Regions from separate parts of the Homo sapiens genome. Here regions 1 and 3 are each linked to region 2. Evidence: promoter capture Hi-C in 16 types of primary human blood cells and fetal thymus (Javierre and others, 2016). All regions are on one chromosome and are shown on one strand. The core of a region is centred on a gene start or on the middle of the fragment in contact, and the rest is flanking DNA. Distances in the headings are between cores, read along the strand shown.

Evidence for each region. The method cuts DNA at HindIII sites, captures the fragments that hold promoters and counts their contacts. A CHiCAGO score of 5 or more calls a contact.
Region 1: a contact is called between a fragment that was not itself captured here and the fragment with the promoter of SRRM3 in region 2, in 1 of 17 cell types (endothelial precursors). The highest score is 5.1, in endothelial precursors.
Region 3: a fragment that was not itself captured here is called in contact with the fragment with the promoter of SRRM3 in region 2 in 2 of 17 cell types (M0 macrophages and naive CD4 T cells); the score reaches 6.0 in M0 macrophages.

The regions. Positions count from the first base shown.
Region 1 is chr7:75,921,098-75,925,373 of GRCh38, reverse strand. All of the region lies in intron 1 of POR (cytochrome p450 oxidoreductase), which reads right to left. It also overlaps the pseudogene RPL7L1P3. Among named protein-coding and RNA genes, the nearest start is that of MIR4651, 8.0 kb to the right of the region's middle. The HindIII fragment of the contact is 251 bases long and covers 1,885-2,135 here.
Region 2 is chr7:76,200,646-76,204,525 of GRCh38, reverse strand. SRRM3 (serine/arginine repetitive matrix 3) reads right to left here and starts at 2,630. Exons shown (of 15, transcript NM_001110199.3): 1 at 2,459-2,630. RefSeq lists a silencer at 2,544-2,783. The HindIII fragment of the contact is 9,812 bases long and covers 845-3,880 here.
Region 3 is chr7:75,873,875-75,878,165 of GRCh38, reverse strand. No RefSeq gene overlaps it. Among named protein-coding and RNA genes, the nearest start is that of RHBDD2, 3.0 kb to the left of the region's middle. The HindIII fragment of the contact is 6,386 bases long and covers 1-4,291 here.

The sequences.
Region 1 (4,276 bases), core at 761-3,260, 280 kb after region 2:
TTTTAAATGTGTATTTTCTTGTTGAAGGGACAGGGTCTCTCTCTCTCTCTCTTGCCCAGGCTGGTCTCAAACTCCTGGCCACAAGTGATCCTCCTGCCTCAGCCTCCCAGAGTGCTGGGACTACAGACATGAGCCATCGCGCCCAGCTGAAAAATACTAATGAGAAACTGGTCAGCTTCCTTTTTCCAATAACTGCTATGTAACCCCATCCTTCTTTGCCTTGGCATCTAGGAAGCTCTGGGCAGAGCTGTGTGCTCAACCACAAGAGCTTCCCTGGACTGCTTTTTGACACCATCACCTCCCAGAGTCCTTTTCTCAATTACTAGGCTCTCAGCTTTCAGTTCCCCCTCTGGTTTTTGGTTTGGTTGGGGAAAGCATGGAAAGTGAAATTCAACAAACTCACAACCCAGTTGAGCTATAAAAGACCAACAGACCTTGGTTCAAAACCTAGATATGCCACCTATGCACTCTGGGATCCTGGGCACACGATTTATCACAGTCCGTCTCCGGGATGACCATGCTCACAGTGCTACGTTGGTTACATGAGACATAAACACCCAGCGCAGACACTCAACGGTTACACTCAACTCCTTTTATTTTCATTAGAATTTTCTATTATTTATTTATTTGGGGAATTTTCTATTTTTCATTTATTACTGTATATTTTGAGATGGGGGTCTCACTCTATCACCCAGGTTGGTGTGCAGTGGTCTGATCATGGCTCACTGCAGCCTCAACCTCCCTGGGCTCAGGTGATCCTCCCACCTCAGCCTCCCAAGTAGTTGGGATGACAGGTACACACCACCACACCCAGCTAATTTTTAAACACTGATGTTTAAAAACACTAATTTTTAAATAGAGATGGTGTTTTGCCATGTGGCCCAGGATGGTCTTGAATTCCTGGGCTCTAGTGATCCGTCCACCTCGGCCTCCCACAGTGCTAAGATTATAAGCATGAGCCACTGTGCCAGGCCCTAGGATTTTTAAAATAAACAAATTTATTCATGTCTTCAGCATCCAGGTAACTGATCTAGAAAGATTTAGAGTCAGAATATTCTTCTTCAATTATAAAATGATTACTGAATAAATTATCAACTACAGAAGGAACTTGAGACACAATTTTTCTTTTCTTTTTTTTTGCAGAGACAAGTGAGCATTTATTTTTGTGCCTTTCTTCCTATGTATATTTCAAGCCTTTTTCAAGGCCCCAGGAATCTCCGGATTCAATTATGTCCCCGGGCTTGGTCGACTGCTGCAGGACTCTTAGGGAGCCTTGTACAAATGCTAGAGTTACTCATTCACCAACATTAAACCCTAGGATAGAAGATGCAACAAAGCAAGACTCCTTTCTCCACAAAATGTGATTTCAGACAAGGCAGCAGCCAACGTAGAAAACGCTGGAATTTTTCCTTGGAACTGGACTGTGATGAGAGGTGCCGCCATGAACGTAAGCTACTGTCTTTTCTTTTCTTTTTTTTTTTTTTTGAGATGGAGTTTCGCTCTTGTTGCCCAGGCTGGAGGACAAAGGTCTGATCTTGGCTCACCACAACCTCCGCCTCCCGGGTTCAAGCGATTCTCCTGCCTCAGCCTCCCCAGTAGCTGGGATTACAGGCGTGTGCCACCACGCTCAGCTAATTTTTGTATTTTTAGTAGAGACGGGGTTTCTCCATGTTGGTCAGGCTGGTTTCGAACTCCCGACCTCAGGTGATCTGCCCGCCTCAGCCTCCCAAAGTGCTAGGATTATAGGCGTGAGCCACCGGGCCCGGCCAGCCACTGTCTTTCCTTTGACCCTTCCTTTACAGTTTTTGAAGATAAAGCAGGAAATAATCTTCTCTGAAGATACTTGATAAAAATTCCACCCCGCCCCCAAAAATAACACAAGCTTCCAGTTCATTGATAAAAATTTACTGTAGTTTGGCACCTGGCTCTAGTTCAGCTGGCGGATGAGCTGATTGATGCACACACCCCCAAGAAGATGGAGGTGTGCCAATCTCCTTCAGAAAGTCCACTATTTTTGGTAGCATGACAGTCCACTGAGAGGTGGAAAGGGGACAAGAACCATGAGATCTCCTGGAAATGCTTCCTTGGGAAGGCAATTTCATGAATGAGGTCTTCCAAGCAAAAGACACCAAGCTTTCCCAGGTGCTCCTCAATCACTGTGTTGTCAGAGGGATGGTCTTATTCTTGACCTTGGCTTGTCTACGTTTCAAAATGAGTTTCTGGACAGACTTCAGATTTGGAAATCCCCAGGTCACATAAGGTTACATACTATACGCTGCATTTTTAGGTTTAAGTCTTGCAATGGCTCTCCGCACCAGTAAACTCACACCATCAATCCTTTCGACGCGTACAACAAAGGCCAAGGAATGTTTATCTGGCGATTCCAAGGTGTGAGGTTTTACTTCTAGTCGTCTGAGACACACCTTGTCATGTTTCTGCCGCCAGGAATCATGTAGGAATGATTCCAGTCGTTTAAACCTGAGCTCTTTTCCTTCCCTCTGCTCCTCCTTTGCCAAAAGTGCCTACTTTGACTGGGTGGCTTTGAGGCCTTGATAAGCCTTCTGCTTTCAGGAGATTTTCTGGAGCCAAAGGGATTTTTCTTTGCTCCTGCTTTGCCATCTTTCTAGTGTTGCAGCTACTGAACATGCGCAACCCCACCACTGACACAAAATTTTATACCTGGATGGAAAACTAAAGTCCTACCAAAAGTTCCTACTGTACTTTGGAATAATCTTCAGAAGTACAGACCAGGCCAGGCGCAGTGGCTCACGCCTGTAATCCCAGCACTTCGGAAGGCCGAGGCGGGCAGACTGCTTCAGGTCAGGCATTCGAGACCAGCTGGGCAACATGGTGAAACCCCATCTGTACTAAAATTACAAAAAATTAGCCAGGCATGATGGCACACACCTATAATTCCAGCTACTCAGGAGGTTGAGGCACGAGAATTGCTTGAACCCAGGAGGCAGAGGTTGCAGTGAGCCAAGATTGCGCCACTGCACTCCAGCCTGGGCGACAGAGTGACAGGCTCTGTCTCAAAAAAAAAAAAAAAAAAAACTACAGATCAGACCCAATTTTGACATCTGAGCTCAGTCAATATGCAGGAGAAAGCTCAGCAGTAAACTTGGGGGACAGAAGCCATATTTATTCATTCATCCATTCATCCAAGTGCCTACCTTATGCCTGGCATTGTTCTATGCCCCAGCTTACACTCGCAGAAATGATAGGTTCCCTGTTCTCAACTGAATTCACCTTCTAGTCCAACCGTATTGCCACTAGGGAGGGGAGAATTAGACACCTTTTATTAAGTCACTGTTTATCCTTTATGAAAGCAGATGAAGAAGAAAACATGCAATAAGACAGTGACAGTGACCGGGCACAGTGGCTCCTGCCTATTATCCCAGCACTTTGGGAGGCTGAGCTGGGTGGACCACTTAAGGCCAGGAGTTCGAGACTGGCCTGGCCAACATGGTGAAACCCTGTCTCTACTAGAAATACAAAAATTAGCTAGGTGTGGAGGCACGTGCCTGTAGTGCCAGCTACTCGGGAGGCTGAGGCAGGAGAATCACTTGAACCTGACAGGTGGAGGTTGCAGTGAGCCAAATCGTGCCACTGCACTCCAGTCTGGGCGAAGAGAAAGGAGGGGTGACCGAAGCAGGGTTCCAAGATCAACCAGCAATGGTACCATGGACAGATCTTGGAACGTGGTAGGGAGGGGAAGAGAGGGAGAATTATGGGTCAATTACGGGTCAGCGCAGCAGGAAGTGACAAGGGGCTACAGTAAGACCACAGCAGTGGAAAGAGATTTAAAGGGCCGGGCGTGGTGGCTCACGCCTGCTGTAATCCCAGCACTTTGGGAGGCCGAGGCAGGCAGATCGCCTGAGGTCAGGAGTTCGAGACCAGCCTGGCCAACACAGTGAAACCCTGTCTCTACTAAAAATACAAAAATTAGCTGGGCGCGGTGCCGCGCACCTATAATCCCAGCTACTCGGGAAGCTGAGGCAGGAGAATCACTTGAACCTGGGAGGCAGAGGTTGCAGTGAGCTGAGATTGTGTCACTGCACTCTGAACAACAGAGCAAGAATCTGTCTCAAAAAAAAAAAAAAAAAAAGACTAAAAACTTACAGGACTTGGTGGTGGTGGGAGACCCAGAATGGAGAGGAAGGGAAAAGGGACAGGAGTCTTTTGTCCTTGGAGCTTCAGGGCCCAGGAAGTCGGTGAGGCCACTGACAGATAGAGCTCTTGTTGTGGAGGTTTCGGGTAGATGGGCTGGGAGCTT
Region 2 (3,880 bases), core at 1,381-3,880:
AGGCAGTGGGGTTGGGTTGCACCAAGACCTTGCTCTGTGACTTTGGGAAAGTCCCATCACACCTTCAGGCCTTGTTTTTCTCCTATGTGAAAGGGAGACAGCAGCACCTTTGGGTCCAGGTTATGTGAGGATGAGATGAGATCATGTATACGAAGTTACAGGACCATGGGCAGAGGCTCAGTGTATGTGTAGGAGTGAAGAAAGAGGGGCTGGGCTTCTCTAACCTCCCCATTGGTGCCCCTGGAAGGCTTCTGAGACAGGAAGAGCTATGATTTTGTCCCTGGGGGACAATAAAATATGGGCAGAGGAGGGAGAAAAGTCAGGAAGGGAGGCTGACCCCAGCAGCGCTAGTAGCTGCTCCTGGCCATGGACCATCTCAGGAGGTGAGGGTGAACCACTAAGAAAGGAAGGAGCAGTCACTGGCTGGCAGAGGTCAGCAAGAGGTTGGGAGGCAGAGGAGGTGCAGAACGGGTGCAGCAGTGAGCAGATGGGACTGTCAGACCCAGACCCCCCCTTTGGCAGGTGTGACGGGGTAGAGGCACCCCGCTGGCCGGTTCAAGGCACATTCTACCTCTAAGTATCCCAGTGACCTTGTGGGAGTCACCTCCTTACTGCACTGTATGCCCTCACCCACCTGCCTCAGGCTCCCCACCTGTAAAGCTGGCATCATAAATCAAGACACTGGCATTGAACTGGGCCTTGATACTCAGAGGATGGGACAGGTCATCAGTAACTCTCCTGCCTCCAGGAGGACAGCGCGAGTGGCTTCATGACCTTGGGAAAGTCACTCAAGCTTCATTTCTCAGCTATGAAATAGGGACAATGATGCCTTCCTCATGAAGCTTCTGTGAGGATTAGCTGAGTCAACCGTTGCATTGTGCCCAGCATGGAGCTGGGCATGAGGCTCTCAACCACTGTTCATCTCCTCTGGGAACAGAAAAATGTGCTTCAAATATCACTGAACACTATTCCACATTTATCCAGCTCTTCTTTAAGAAATTCTTACTTGTCTCCTATTTACTAACACTCACCCAGCATTTTATACCGTAAAAGTAGTCTCCCATCTCCTTATCCAGATTATTTCTTTCAACAGCAAAGTAGACATTGCTAACACTACACCTGTTTTACAGATTGAAAACAGACTCAGAAAGGTCAATGGCTTACCTGAGGTCACATAACCTAGATTTGATCCCATGTCTTTCTGACATCAGAGTCCATGACTCCCAACCCACATACCCCTACCTCTTAAAACCCAGTTGACTCTTTAGTCAGTCTTCAAGAATACCTCCTCCACCCCACAGGAGAGTGGGATGGGGCATAAAGTTAAGGAACCAGAAAGCTACTGCTGTGTGGGAACAATTTCCTAGCCAGCTGGGTCCTATTTTTGACTGAGGAAGAAGCTGGCACAAACTGGGGCCATGACCTTAAGATGCTCCCTGGACAGAGGAACTTGTGCACGTCTCTCCGTCAAAGCCCAGCACCTGCCTTTTCTCTTGCCATGGGACAAAAGACCAGCTCAAGCCCCCGATGCTAGGGTGAGTGAGGTCTTAGGACAGCGAGAAGTTATGGCTGGGATAGGGCACAGGCATTGAAGTACCACGTCAGACCTTGGTACAACCTTCCCTTCCTCCCACTAAATCTCTCCCCACAATGGATCTGCTGTCAGGAGTAGGAACTGCAGGAGGCTTCAACACTGTCCAGGCAGGAGCCCTGGGAGGGAGGGGGAGGCGGAGGCAAGGCAGAGGCTGCGTCTTTTCTCAGCTCTCTTCTTTACCAGGAATTCACTCTGGCGCAGGTCTAACTCTGGGCTAGAAACTCTCTCTGGGCGTCCGTGGTTGGGGTGGGGGGTGTGCACAGAGAACCCCCTCCCAAATTCCTAGTAGCTATTTTCTCTTCTGTGTCCTCCATCCTCTTCCCAGTGCAAGAGTAAATGCCATCCTGTGAGACCCAGTTCTCCTTGCCAGCTCCTGCCTCCCTAGGGGCATTTGGGTAGCCGGGAAAGGGGCCAGGCTGTCCCCTGGGCCGGCACCTCCTGCTGGACAGAGGCCCAGCATCCAGGTGGGGGCCTGCTCCCTTCACCAGGGCCAGTGACCAGCATCTCCACAGGGTTACTGCATCGGTCCTCCCTTCCCTGGGGAGCAGGTCCTTCTCCTCAGTGGGACTGCGGTTGGGGGGCCTCCCTGGCACCCTCATGGACTAGGCCATGGTCATTTATGCCCAGGGGAGTCCTGCCCATGACCCCAAAGGTCTCCACTGTCTCCATCCCTCTCAGTGAAATGAATGTTCCTCATCTCTGCTCCCCGGGCGCCTGGCACCCCCGGACAGACGCCCTCGCCGACCTCCCACACTGCCCCTCTGCTCGGGGGAGCCTGCAGACCACGGGGGTGCTGGGGAGGCCCGAGCTTCCACCCAGCCCCAGCCCCTCGGGGATATGCCCCCGCCCCACAGGCGCTCTCACCTCACCGCTGACCGCCGCGATCTACCGGGCGCTGGGGCCAGGCCCTCGGGTCCCGCCGGTCCGGGCTGCCGCCTAGTCTGGGCTGAGTTGGGCAGGGCAGCTCCGCGGCCCCCACGGCCCCGCACCCTCTGCCTCCCCGCGGGTGCTGCCGCCGCTTGCTGAAATGCTGGACAGCGCACCGCCACCGAGGCGCCTCTCTGCTCGCCCGCCAGCCAGAGCGGCCCAGCCCCGCGCCCGCAGCGCCCTCCGCAGGCCTGGAGGAACGCCCGCAGCGGAGGCAACAGCCCGGGCGGCTGGGCCGGGCCGTCTCCCGGCCGGCTCCCCCTCCTCCCCGCCCCCTTCGCCCCCCTCCCCCCCTTCCCCTCGCCCCTCACCTCCCCACACCCCCGCCCCTATCCCCAGCCCCCGGGGACATCTGTTTCCCCCACTTGCGAGAGGAGGCATGTCAGCCCTGGAAGGCGCCTGGGGCAAGGGAGGTTATTAGTTTGGATCTGGGAAATGCAGTCGGTGTGCAGAGGCCTCGCCAGGACACTCTCTTCCCACCCAGTGTTAAAGAAGGCACCAGGGGCTGGGCGCGGTGGCTCACGCCTATAATCCCAGCACTTTGGGAGACTGAGGCGGGAGGATCACTTGAGGCCAGGAATTCGAGACCAGCCTGGCCAACATGGTGAAACCCAGTCTCTACTAAAAATACAAAAATTAGCCAGGCGTGGTCGCAGGCACCTGTAATCCCAACTACTCAGCTACTTGGGAGGCTGAGGCAGGAGAATCGCTTGAATCTGGGAGGCGGAGTTGCAGTGAGCCAAGATCGCACCATTGCACTCCAGACTGGGCGACAAGAGCAAGACTTAGGGTCAAAAATAAAATAAAATAAAATAAAATAAAAGGCACCAGGGAGGTGAGGTGGGAGGATCGCTGGAGCCCAGGAATTTGAGGCTGCAGTGACCTATGGTGGCGCCACTGCACTCCAGCCTGAATGACAGAGGCTGTCATTTTTTGACACCATCTCAAAAATTTAAAAAAAAAAAAAGGAGGGTGTAGTGTGAGAGACATCCTAATGGAGACAGGAGATTTTAAATTATTTTTTTAAATTTTAAAATTTTGGCTGGATGCAGTGGCTCACATCTGTAATCCTAACATTTTAGGAGGCTGAGGTGGGAAATCACTGAGCTCAGGAGTTTGAGACCAGCCAGGCCAACATGAGGAAACCCTGTCTCTATGAAAAATACAAAAATTTGCCAGATGTGGTGGCATGCATGCACCTGTGGTCCCAGCTACTTGGGAGGCTGAAGTGGGAGGAAGGCTTGAGCCTGAGAAGCGAAGGTTGCAGTGAACCAAGATTGCTCCATTGCACTCCATCCTAGGTGACAGAGCCTCAATTTGTCTCAAAAACAAAAACAAAACAAAAAAACAAAAACAACA
Region 3 (4,291 bases), core at 1,386-3,885, 330 kb after region 2:
AGCTCACAGAACTCTTTCATATCACGATCTTCCCATCTGTATTCATCCCTATTACACCAAAGAGGAAACAGGACTAGGGAGGGCCCTGGGTAATTCAGTTACATGGCAAAGACAGAATTAGAACTCAGTTCCTCCTGCTATGGCCCGGAATTGGCCTCCAGTACAGCCAGGGGCAGCTTTATCTTCATATTGAAGAAAAGGGGCAGGAGGCTGGGCACGGTGGCTCACGCCTGCAATCCCAGCACTTTGGGAGGCCGAGGCGGGCGGATCACGAGGTCAAGAATTAGAGACCAGCCTGGCCAACATGGTGAAACCCCGTCTCTAATAAAACTACAAAAATTAACCCGGCATGGTGGCGCGTGCCTGTAATCCCAGCTACTCCGGAGGCTGAGGCAGGAGAATCGCTTGAACCCAGGAGGCGGAGGTTGCAGCAAGCCGAGATCGCACCACTGCGCTCCAGCCTGGGTGACAGAGCAAGACTGTATCTCGGAAAAAAAAAAAAGGAAAAGGGACAGGAAACGGGAGAGGGATTCAATGGAAGGGACTCAAAAGTTAGGGATGTAATAGAACACTCATAACCGAGATCTATTTCAGCACTTTACAGTTTGAAAAGTGCTTTTGCTGGAGAACAGCTGTTTAAGGTAGACCTTCCTTTTTTTTTGACAAGAGTCTCACTCTGTCACCCAGGCTGGAGTGCAGTGGCGTGATCTCTGCTCACTGCCACCTCTGCCACCCAGATGCAAGTGATTCTTGTGCCTCAGCCTCCCGAGTCCCAAGTAGCTGGGACTACAGGTGTGCATCACCACGCCCAGCTAATTTTTGCATTTTTAGTAGATATGGGATTTCACCACATTGGCCAGGCTGGTCTCGAACTCCTGACCTCAGGTGATAAGCCTGCCTTGACCTCTCAAAGTCCTGGAATTACAGACATGAGCCACTGTGCCCAGCAGTACCTTCAAGGGTACTACCTTTTTCGCTTTCTCCAGTGACCCTGCCCAGTACTCCCTCCCCTCACATGGTAGAAGTATTTGGCTCCTTCCCCACACACCCACCCTAGTGTTATCAGCTCCTTGCCCTTGGCTGCAGGCTTTGGTTTGACTCAGCTGTAACTGCTGCCCCCCATAGCTTAGAAGCTCCTGCTGGCTCTGAAGGAAGGAGGCTAAATTTTGGGGCTTGTGTGTCCTGCTTCAGTAGCACAATCATAGCTCACTGCAGCCTTGACCTCCCGGGCTCATGGTATCCTCCTGCCTCAGCCTCCCAAGTAGCTGGAACCACAGGTGCGTGCTACCGCACCTAGCTAGCTGCTTCTTTTTTGTAGAGATGGGATCTTGCTCTGTTGCCCAGGCTGGTCTTGAACTCCTGGGCTTAGGCAATCGTCCCGCCTTGGCCTCCCAAAGTGCTGGGATGACAGGTGTGAGCCACCATGCCTAGCCTGTTGTGTGCTTTTTATGTAGTTACTCATTACATTTTCACAACCCTTGTGAGGCTGGTTCTGTAATTACGCCCGTTTTACAGATGAAGCAATGGAGATACAGAGAAGTTAAGTAACTTAAAATTAGGCAACAAGTCTTCCAGGAATTTTTTTTTTTTTTTTTTGAGACGAAGTCTTGCTCTGTCACCCAGGCTGGAGTGCAGTGCTGTAATGTCTGTTCACTGTAACCTCCTCCTCCCTGGTTCAAGCAGTTCGCTGCCTCAGCCTCCTGAGGCACTTCCCATATTATACTATCATTGCATATTTGTGCCCGTAATTGTGAGCTTACCAAGGGCAGAAGCCATGTCTGATTTATACCTGTGTCTGTATCCACAGCCCTGGCACCTAGCACACAGTGGGGCCACAGAAAATGTTCAATGCAAAGTTATTAGCCCTGATGCCTTTGGGATGTGACCTACTTCCCTTCCTTGTCTCTTGTCCAGAAGCCGAGGGTTCTCACGTAATTGAGACCCCTGGGGACTGTTATAACAACAGCCACCATCCCGAATGCATTTCACACTGAATTTCTGGCAAGAATTTCAAGATATTTTTTGAAGAGGAGACCTGAGGTACACCAGTCTAGGATGGCATGGCCAGTCAGCCCACCTAGCTCTCTGTAGAAAGAGTTTTCTGCATTTGCTGTGCAGAGGGTTTAGGCTCGGAGAGGGCAGTTGCAGGAGATATTCACGTTTCCCTTAAGGGAAACCTAGGATTGCAGGTGTGAGACACTGCACTTTTTTTTTTTTTTTTTGAGACTGAGTTTCGCTTTTGTTCCCCAGGTTGGAGTGCAATGGTGTGATCTTGGCTCACCGCAACCTCCGCCTCCCCGGTTCAAGCGATTCTCCTGACTCAGCGTCCCGAGTAGCTAGGATTACAGGCATGCGCTAGCATGCCCGGTTAATTTTGCATTTTTAGCAGAAACGGGGTTTCACCATGATGGTCAGGCTGGTCTCGAACTCCCGATCTCAGGTGATCCGCCTGAGATCTCAGCCTCCCAAAATGCTGGGATTACAGGCTTGAGCCACCACGCCCAGCCCACTGGGCCTTTTTGTTGTTGTTGTTTGTACAGACAGAGGTCTCACTATGTTGCCCAGGCTGGTCTCAAACTCTTGGGCTCAAGTGATCCTCGTGCCTGGGCCTCCCAAAGTGTTGGGATTCCAGGCATGAGCCAAGCCAAAAACCAGGAGATAAATACCATGTTATACTGGCCATTTCCTTTAATGTTCCCTTAAAGGAGACATTAATGGCTCCTACATTAGCATTTGAGAAGCAGCCAGTGTGGAGCTGGTGGAGCTCAGGCTGGAAGTCAGGAGGAAGCAGGACCTCACCCTGGCTCTTTCACTCGCTGCCTGAGTGATCTTGGGTAAGGGAGCCTCAGTTTCCTCATCTATAAAATGGGAACTAAGTCTTATCTTGCAGGGTTTTGATGAAGAAAACAGATAAGATTGACCGAGGGACGAATAGGATGTGAGGAGGTCACACTGTGAGTTAGTGGAAGAGCTAGGATTTGAACTTGGGTCATTAGATCTCTAAAGTTGTTCTATTTCTTTTTATTTTTTTGAGACAGAGTCTTACTCTGTCGCCCAGGCTGGAGTGCAGTGGCGTGATCTTGGCTCACTGCAACCTCCACCTCCCAGGTTCAAGTGATTCTCCTGCCTTAGCCTCCCCAGTAGCTGGGATTACAGGCACATGCCACCACGCCCTGCTAATTTTTGTATTTTTAGTAGAGACAGGGTTTCGCCATGTTGGCCAGGCTGCTCTCAAACTCCTGGCCTCAAGTGATCCATCTGCCTTGGCCTCCCAAAGTGCTGGGATTATAGGCGTGCGCCACTGCACCTGGCCAAGTTGTTCTATTTCTTTTTTTTTTTTGAGACGGAGTCTCGCTCTGTCGCCCAGGCTGGAGTGCAGTGGTGCGACCTTGGCTCACTACAAACTCTACCTTCCGAGTTCACGCCATTCTCCTGCCTCAGCCTCCCGAGTAGCTGGGACTACAGGCGCCCGCCACCACGTCTGGCTAATTTTTTTGTATTTTCAGTAAAGACGGGGTTTCACCATGTTAGCCAGGATGGTCTCGATCTCCTGACCTCATGATCCACCTGCCTTGGCCTTCCAAAGTGCTGGGATTACAGGCGTGAGCCCCTGTGCCCAGCCAGGTTGTTCTATTTCTACCACTACACACATCTCTACCATGGCAAGTATAACACGGTATTTACTTCCTGGTTTTTGGCCAGTCACAGCAGCTCACGCCTGTCATCCCAGCACTTTGGGAGGCCCAGGCAGGAGGATCACTTGAGCCCAAGAGTTTGAGACCAGCCTGGGCAACATAGTGAGACCCCTGTCTGTACAAACAAACAAACAAACAAACAAACAAACAAAAAAGAAAGGCTGGGTGCAGTGGCTCACACCTGTCATCCCAGCACTTTGGGAGGCCAAAGCAGGAGGATTGCTTGAGCCCACAAGTTAGAGACTAGCCTTTGGACAACATAGTGAGACCCCCATTTCTATTATATTTAAAAAAATATTTTTAAAAAAATCCTGTTTGTTGTGTCTGTCTCTCTTCCCAGACTGTGAGCTTCTTGAGGGACAGCACCATGTAGAGTCCTGCACAGAGTAGGCCTTCAGGAAATGTCTGGAAGGAAGGGAGGCAGGCAGGCAGGCTCTTTGAATTTTTTGGCTTTTGGCCGAAGTTCTTACTCCTTTTTGTCATATCTGACATATCTGATGAAACCTAGGGACTCCTCATGTAAATGATGCTTTTTTTTTTTTTTTTTTTTTTTTGAGACAGGGTCTCATTCTGTTGCCCAGGCTGGAGTGCACTGG